3 separate regions of the Homo sapiens genome follow, and regions 1 and 3 are each linked to region 2. The links are contacts of gene promoters, found by promoter capture Hi-C in blood cells and fetal thymus (Javierre and others, 2016). All regions are on one chromosome and are shown on one strand. Each heading gives the region's core, a stretch centred on a gene start or on the middle of the fragment in contact. The rest is flanking DNA. Distances are from core to core; before and after follow the strand shown. Region 1 overlaps TCF12 (transcription factor 12). Region 2 holds the start of TCF12 (transcription factor 12). Region 3 overlaps ZNF280D (zinc finger protein 280D).

What was found. The method cuts DNA at HindIII sites, captures the fragments that hold promoters and counts their contacts. A CHiCAGO score of 5 or more calls a contact.
Region 1: a fragment that was not itself captured here is called in contact with the fragment with the promoter of TCF12 in region 2 in 4 of 17 cell types (activated CD4 T cells, naive CD8 T cells, non-activated CD4 T cells and 1 more); the score reaches 6.8 in activated CD4 T cells.
Region 3: a fragment that was not itself captured here is called in contact with the fragment with the promoter of TCF12 in region 2 in 1 of 17 cell types (fetal thymus); the score reaches 9.2 in fetal thymus.

The regions. Positions count from the first base shown.
Region 1 is chr15:57,207,652-57,210,351 of GRCh38, forward strand. The region is part of intron 8 of TCF12 (transcription factor 12); the gene reads left to right. Among named protein-coding and RNA genes, the nearest start is that of SNORD13D, 70 kb to the right of the region's middle. The HindIII fragment of the contact is 5,108 bases long and covers 1-2,700 here.
Region 2 is chr15:56,917,242-56,919,965 of GRCh38, forward strand. TCF12 (transcription factor 12) reads left to right here and starts at 1,403. Exons shown (of 21, transcript NM_207037.2): 1 at 1,403-1,665; 2 at 2,651-2,724. The coding sequence starts at 2,673. It overlaps TCF12-DT (TCF12 divergent transcript), which reads right to left and starts at 1,258. Exons shown (of 4, transcript NR_015419.2): 1 at 299-1,258. RefSeq lists silencers at 563-702, 1,223-1,352, 1,523-1,572, 1,663-1,952, 2,003-2,442. The HindIII fragment of the contact is 11,533 bases long and covers 1-2,724 here.
Region 3 is chr15:56,649,357-56,652,207 of GRCh38, forward strand. All of the region lies in intron 19 of ZNF280D (zinc finger protein 280D), which reads right to left. Among named protein-coding and RNA genes, the nearest start is that of ZNF280D, 83 kb to the right of the region's middle. The HindIII fragment of the contact is 4,877 bases long and covers 1-2,851 here.

The DNA of each region.
Region 1 (2,700 bases), core at 76-2,575, 290 kb after region 2:
GGGCAACAAAAGTAAAACTCCGTCTCAAAAAACAACAACAAAAATAATAAGTAAGAACTAAGAAAACTTCAAGTTTTCTGACTTGAGCTTGACAATTTTTTAAACTGTCAAACTCATCATTATTTGAAATCATGATTTTCAGTATCTTCTCCAGTAACACAAAAGATATTTTAAAATTTCAAAAATCAGTAACTTAAATGAGATTTAGAAAACTTATTTGCTACTAGTATGGGCTCCATCTAGTAGATTCCCAGTCAGGAGAATATGAATCCCTTCTGTCAAAATCAACAAATATATACTAAGTCCTTATCGTGAATGAAGAACTATTTTAGACTTTAGGGATTTAAATATGAATAAAATATGGACCCTGACTTCAAGATTCTTTTTTTTTTTTTTTTTAAAGACAGAGTATTGCTCAGTCGCTCAGGCTGGAGTACAGTGGTGCGATCTTGGCTCACTGCAACTTCCACCTCCCGGGTTCAAGCAAATCTCTGCCTCAGCCTCCTGAGTAGCTGGGATTGCAGGCATCTGCCACCACACCCAGCTAATTTTTTTGTAATTTTAGTAGAGACGGGTTTCACCATCTTGGCCAGGCTGGTCTTGAACTCCTGACCTCGTGATCCACCCGCCTCAGCCTCCCAAAGTGCTGGGATTACAGTTGTGAGCCACCGCCCCTGGCCAAGATTCTTATAGTCAAAAGATAACCTTGTTCTTTGGACAAAAATATCCTTTTTTTTTTTTTTTTTTTGGAGACAGAGTCTCACTCTGTCACCCAGGCTGGAGTGCAGTGGCATAATCTTGGCTCACTGCAACCTCCACCTCCTGGGCTCAAGTGATCCTCACACCTCAGCCTCCCGAGTAGCTGGAACTACAGGCAAGTGCCACCACAACTGGCTAATTTTTGTATTTTTTTTGTAGAAACAGGGTTTCATCTTGTTGCCCAGGCAGGTCTCGAACTCCTGGACTCAAGCGATCCACCCACCTTGGCCTCCCAAAGTCCTGGGATTACATGCGTGAGCCACTGCACCCAGCCTGGAAAGAAAGAACTTAAAAAAAAATTTTTTTTTTTCTTTTGAAACAGGAATTCAGTCTGTGGTCCAGGCTGGAGTACAGTGGTGCCATCATAGCTCGCTGCGGCCTCAAACTCCTGGGCTCAAGCAGAGAGGCAGTCCTCCCACCTCAGCCTCCTGAGTAACTGGGACTACAGGCACATGCCACTACACCTGGCTACATTTTCTATTTTTTGTAGAAAAGAGGTTTTGCTGTGTTGCCAGGGTTGGTCTCAAACTCCTGGCCTCAAGTGATCCTCCCATCTTGGCCTCCCAAAGTGCTGGGATTACAGGTGTGAGTCACTGCGGCCAGCCCAAAATGTTTTTTGTTGCATAATTGTTGTTCACCAGGCACATGATGTAGTATTTAGGAAATGCTTTTTGAATTAAAGGGATAAAAATAAGGACTACAAGGCCATTATTTTATGTATCTATAATAGGAAACATCACCTGTTAATGACTTCCTGCTCTAAGCTGTACTTTTTAACTTACTTCTCTGATTGTTCAAACCTTCAATATGTTAACTGGCCTTCTTTGTATAAGAAACTGAATTATATGTCCCATTTCTCCCTTCAATTATGCAGTTAATTCCTAGTTACCAAAATAGGAGCATTTTACCAAAACCAAAACAGAAAGCAGGAAAATTACAGGTAATTCAGCCATCAGCATTAATTCTACATTGTTTTAGGATGACCTAATTAAAAATATAGGGCCATGGTCCTCACGCGAAAGAAAAGTATGGAAAACAACAATACAGGAATTATTTTTCTAAAGGAAATAAGTTACGGTTTCATTGACATAAATTTGAAACAGAGGACAGTCTTATATTTCTCTTACTAGAATTCTCTTCAAGAATTTAACCATTCGTGGTCACCTGTGTAGCTATCATCTTTGTCTAAACCACCTTTACCTCTTTCTTAAATTATGGCAACAGCTTTATAACTGGTCTTCCAGTTTTATTTTGTTTTTATTTTTAGACACAGGAACATCCTTTTAAAATCTAGGTCAGATCATATACTCCTCTGCTTAAAATCCTCCAGTAGCTTCCCTTATTATAAAACCAACATCTTTAAAATGGCTTATAAGACACCTGCCACCTTTCAGACTTCATCTTCTACCACTCTGCCCCTCCCTTACTTCACTCTAGCCATACTCTCCTTTTTACTGCTTCTTAAAGATGTCAAGCACACTCCTACCTCAGGGCCTTTGCATTTGCAGTTTATGGAACACACTTTCCCTCGTATCCAAATGGCTAGTTTTCTCTTTGATGTCATATCACACTGTCAATGAAGATCTTTTGTGACCATCCTATATAAAAGGGCAACATACCCCTAGTACCTCCTCACTCTTTTCCTGATGTATTTTTCTCTACAGTACTTCATACAATCTGATATGGCCTAATTCGTTTATTCTTTATCTGTGTTACCCAGGAGCAACATAATAAAGCAGGGATTTTATTTATGTTGTTTATTGCACCTGCAGCACAGAGGTGCATAACAGATACTTAATAACTATTTGTTGAATAAATGAACAAAGGCAAATGATTAGCAATACAGCCATAGCTCTTCTTTCTAGACCATGCTTAGCTGACTCAGACAAGGTATGAGCTACATACTAGATAATCTAAATTATCTTCAGGAGAAAGATAGCT
Region 2 (2,724 bases), core at 153-2,652:
CAGGCCTGAAAATACATGAAAATATAGAGCCTAAAATATAGCCTGAAAATGTACTGAAAATATAGAGATTTCTTTGGATGATTATTTCCTAAATACACCTTAACAACTATTCACATAGCATTTGCATTGTATTAGGTTTTATAAGTAATCTAGATATGATTTAAAGTATATGGGGAAACACACCATTTTTATGTAAGAGACTTGAACATCTTAGAAAATCCAGAGTCTGGGAACCAATCCCACGGATATAGAGACAACTGTACTAACTACAGTAATGGCATATGGTAGCTGAATCTACCTCTCTTTCCATCCCAGTCCGGAATCCAAAGGCTCCTTCTTGCCATGTTGTCCTCGGGCGTTGGCTGCTTCCTCCCATTTGTTACTTTGGAAGTGTCTTCTTTCCTCAGTGTTTCTTCTGCGTGGGCCTTACCGGTCTTTACTGCACTCACTTACCTAAGAGGCAAAACAATGGCTGCCATTCAAGAAAATCTCACTTCAGCCCAGAATCGAAGAACTGGGGCTTATTTTGTCTTCTTTCTACTCTGGGGCTTCTCTGAGGCCAAGTTCAGAACTTGTGCACAAGACAGTGGCTGTGTGACAGAGCCACCCAGGGCTGTCTCCGTTAGATGAAGAGACTGGCTTGATCCATTCCCAAGAACTAGTCCCACGTGCAGTTCGGTTGCTCCGAATGGGATTTGGGTGCGAGGGGCTGACTGGAGATGTGGGGTCTGGGTGAGTGGGGTATTTGAGAACCTGAAGCTCACAAGGCTTTGTCTGGTTTGAGGTACGTTTTGCCCTTTCTCCCGCATTCGGCTCTGCATCGAATCTGACCGGCCGCGCCTACTCTCGGAACGGCCGAGGAGGATGGGTCTCCCGTCTCCACACGCGCGGTGTCTGCGCCGACTGCAGCCCTCCTGGACGGGAGCCTCTGGGCCCAGCTTAGGGTGGCGTCCAGCGTGACCTACTCGGGAATGGCAGCCTTCAGTGTCCTGCGGCCTCGGGTTCCGGGAAGCTCGGGGACCTGGGCAGCGGATCCAGATGCTTCCACAGCTGTGTCTCCGTCGCTCCGCTTCGGGGGCCGAGAACCAGCAAGACCAACGCGAGGAGGCGCCACGGTACCTGCCACCCCGCTCCCAGGAGGCCCGGACGAGGCTTCGTCGGCGAGCGGTCGGGGCCTGCTTCTCGAGGTGCCTGCGAGCGCCTCATGCCCCTCCCCACCGGCCCCAACTCCGTCCCGCCTCACCCGACCGCGGGCTTTGTCCACCCGCCGCGGTGCGGCTCCTCCCAGTCCCCGACAGCTCCTCCCCGCCCCCTCTGCCGGCCCCACTTCCTAGGCGGCGGAGCGGGTCGGGGAGGGAAGGGTTAACCCGCGGCTCTTCCCGGCGCGGAGGGATCCGGAGGCGAGCCGAGCGCGGTGGTGAGGCCGCCTCAGCGAAAAAAATGTCCGCCTGAAGAGACCCACAAGTTCTATTCGGGGGGACCGACAGCCCGCCCCGGGAGGAAGGGGCGGCCAGGCCCGAAAGCCGCCTCCCCCTCCCAGACCCGAGAGCTCGTGCGGGGCAAAGTGAACCGAGCCGCTGGGCGGTGCAAGGGGAAGCCCAAGCCCGTTCTCCCGGCCAAAGTGAACTTTAATCGGGGTGGTTGGATGCGGAGACGGGGCGGCAGGTAATTGCGGGCTAGCGAGCGGGAGTGGGGCGGCGCGGCGGGGCTGGGGGCTGCGGGGCGCCGCCGCGTCCCTGCCGGAGTGGGGGCGCCCCCGTCCCCCGCCTCAACTCCGCGCCCCTTTGTACAGCGCGAAACCCGGGGTCCCCTCCAAGTTGGGGAGCGGAGTGGGGGCGGAGGCTCGAGTCGCGGGCGCTCAGGCCCGCTGGCGGCGCGCTCGGCCTGTGCGCCCCGTTCGGTGCCCGACTCGGGCCGGCGCCCAGGCTCCGGGGCGCGCGGGAGATCGGGCGGCTTCGGCCGCGGAGCCAGGCTCATTGTTCGGCAGGTCCGGGGCAGGGCAGCAAAAGTGGGAGGAGGCCGAGCCTGGGGAGGAGGACGCCGGCCGAGAGCGAGACTAGTTGTCGGGGTTTCTGTTTTCTGTTTAAAAACGCCCCTTGGATGAGCTGGGGGTGCTTTCCGACCTCCTGGGCCCGCCGGGGACGTCCGGGCGGCGGCGGCCGCAGACGCGGGCCTGCGAGCGGCGCGTTCCCTGCAACTTGTCAGTTCTATTGTTGCCGAGCGAGTGAGTCACTTCGCATCTCCGCTCGCCGCCGCTCCGCTCGCTGGACGCCGAATTGCCCCTCACCCCGCTCCTCGAGACCCCAGCCGCGGCCGGGCCCGGCGCGCGGAGCACCCGGCGGCGGCGCGGAGCAGGGGGCGCCGAGGAGGTGGCAGAGACTGGCTCGGAAACTTGGGGGAGAGGCGGCGAGTTGCGGGAGCCGCCGCGTCGATCTCGGGCCGCGGCGAGGAACGCGTGGATTCCGGGACCCGGCGCGGGCACTGAGCCCTCCCGCCCCTTGCTCGCGCCGCGGTGGGAGCGAGTCGGGGTCCTGGAAGTCATCCCGGCGCCCCCAGCGCTCTTGCGTAATCTTCCCCAGTACCTCTCTCTGTTCCCTCACACACTTTGGGCCTCGGTGGTCTCTCGCTGAGCCCGTTTCCTCTGCCCTAGGACCTGCTAGAAGTGGCCGAAGATGAATCCCCAGCAACAACGCATGGCCGCTATAGGGACCGACAAGGAGCTGA
Region 3 (2,851 bases), core at 269-2,768, 270 kb before region 2:
TCTCAAATTCTCCCTGCTTACCAGATATCAAAGGCAGAAGTCCAAATTGCCAGAAACCACTTGCAATTACATACCAGGAGCAAATATATTAAGTCTATTTTGAAAAGGAAGAACTATTTTACAGTTCCTAAAGATCGGTTTGAGATATTAATGTCTATGGTAGGATGAGAGAATCTAGGGGCTAAAATCCCGGTCACATTTCAAAAGTTTAAAGAAGGAAACAAGCCCAAAATGAACTCAATAGATCAGTTTGTTTTTTTTTTTTAATCTTGCTAAATTAATGAAATGAAGTCTCCCAACAATTTTGAACACATAAGAGCTACAGAGTTATAATTTAGGATTATGACCAGAGCCAATAATTCCTCCAAGTAAGTTCAAAATTTCACAGGAAAATAATGGAATGAACCCTTATATATCTTCAATGGTCACAGGTTCAATGACAGTAAGTATCTCTTAACAGAAATAATATTTTAAAATATAAGATTTATAGAAAAAGGCTGCCATTCTGTTCCTAAGAGTTTACTTACTGCTTACATTTATGAAAGATAATTAATGACTTACTGGTTTGAGAATAGCAGAATAAAGTGCTATTTCACCTTGAGAATAGGTCCAGATTCTCTTCTGATACAGCATTTCACAAAAAAAATCCCATAATGCAATATATACATGATATTAGTGGTTTAATTGATTATGAAATCAGTTGACTATAGTCCCTGTAAAAAATGTGGATTCAGTGTCTACATTTCTAATTCCCTTATTCTGTAATTGCTTTGGTGCTATAAACCATGTTTTATTCATGTTTCCAACACCTGACACAGAATCTTGCACACATAAAAAGTAGGGTGTCAATGTTCAGTGACAAAGAATATATGGGAAGGTTGTCTATATCATACTGTGAATGAGCCATGTAGTTACTACTGGTGCTAAGTATAAAGCTCATTAAATTAGGGGGATTTAATAAAGTATAATACACACATTAACATCTGTAAAACACATTTTACATATTTCTAACATCTTCAAAACAAAGATATTTTCAACTCGATTTCACAGAAAAAGAAACTGAAGTAACTGTACCTTAAATAAAGTTAGTGAGGCAGCTGGGTCCTTTAACTCTAATATTTTGACTGTCAATGTCTTTCCCATTGTACTTTGCTTAGAACAAACATGGATGTCACTCAGAGAACTAAATCAACTTTTAAAATCTCTTGAAATTGTGGCTTTTAGGATATTTGATTCAACAATAAAATAGGCAACCAGTTAAGTAGCCTAGTTTAGCAAACTTGAGTTATTATGTATTTACCACAGATTCTTACACTCTCAAGATCTGTTAGAGGAAATTATCATTCTATTCTCAACTTTTTGTCAAGAAAAAGAAACTTACAAAACTCAAACCTTTACTTCTATTTTGTTATAATTCATCCATCCAGGTAGATATACAAGAAAACAGAGGAGGGGAGAAATGGAGGTAAGGGAGAAACAGAAAAGAACAATTTCATGACTGAGTTTGACTTTGCCTGTTTCATGTCTTCACTCAAATGTCATCTCTCAGTGAGGCCTCACTAAATTAAAAATGGCAGCCTTCCAACACCTACCCCATACTCCTTTATCACCCTTCTCTGATTCATATTTCTCCATAGTATTGATCATCATCTAACATATTATATGTTTTATTTACTTTTATTGTCTTTCACAAATATAATGTAAGTTCCATAAGAGCAGAGATTAGTCTATATTTCTAGAAACTAGGACAATGCCAGGCACAAAGTAGATGCTCAATAAATATTCGCTGAATAAATACATGATGCCCAAAGAGGCAAAGTGTTTTGCCAAAATGTGACAAAAACAGGGCAAGAATCTGAGCCTCTGTAGTTTAATAATTATTTTTCTAAGAATGATGATGGACTCAAACTGAACCAATCACATATTTTATTCAACAGTAACCAAAAAGCACATATGCATGAAATGGCTATCTGACCAGATGAATAAACTAGAATAAAATGATGGTAAGGAGGGATTAGACTCAAACTAAAACTCATTAGCACTAAACTGAAAATTCAACTAATTGCTTACAATAAGCAAACTTTGTACTGACTGCCAAGTGTTTTATTTGAACCTTTTTTTAAAAATGAATTTACTGGGAAAGAACTTTAAGAATTCATACTTTAAGAAAATGAATTTGATACATACTATAAAAAAAAAGTCTATGTAAGACCACAAAGCAGTACAGTCATTCCCTGGTATTGGTAGGGGATTGGTTACAGAACCTGCCCCCACCCCACAGGTCGCCCCTACCTCCCCAAACCTCCACCAGGAATAACAAAATCCTCAGATGCTCAGATCACTTATACAATGTAAATGCTATGTAAATAGTTGTTATATTGTATTGTTTTTTATTTGTATTTTTTATTGTTATATTGTTATTTGTTATTGTTTTTCCCCCCAAATATTTTCAATCCATGGTTGGCTGAATCTGCAGACACAAAACCCAAGGATATGAAGGATTGACTGTACTCCTACATTACTATATTAACAATGTGGTTTATCCTGCTTTTGACCTATGACCAAGGTAAGGTGAATATCTGTAAATGAACTAATGTTAAAAATGGAAAAAGTTATTGTTTCTGGATAAACTTTTAAAAACTGGGTAGAGAGAGGAGATAACAAAAATTCCTAGAGACAAATAAGAAAAAAAAAAAAACAACTAGTATATCACTAAGTCCACTACTAAGAAACAAACTACTTGCGGAGATTTTGGAAAACCTTTCACTTAAAATATAAATTAGTTTGGAAATTCAGAACTATTAGATTCAACTCTTTTGATAATTAATTGCAAGAAACACGTCATATAATA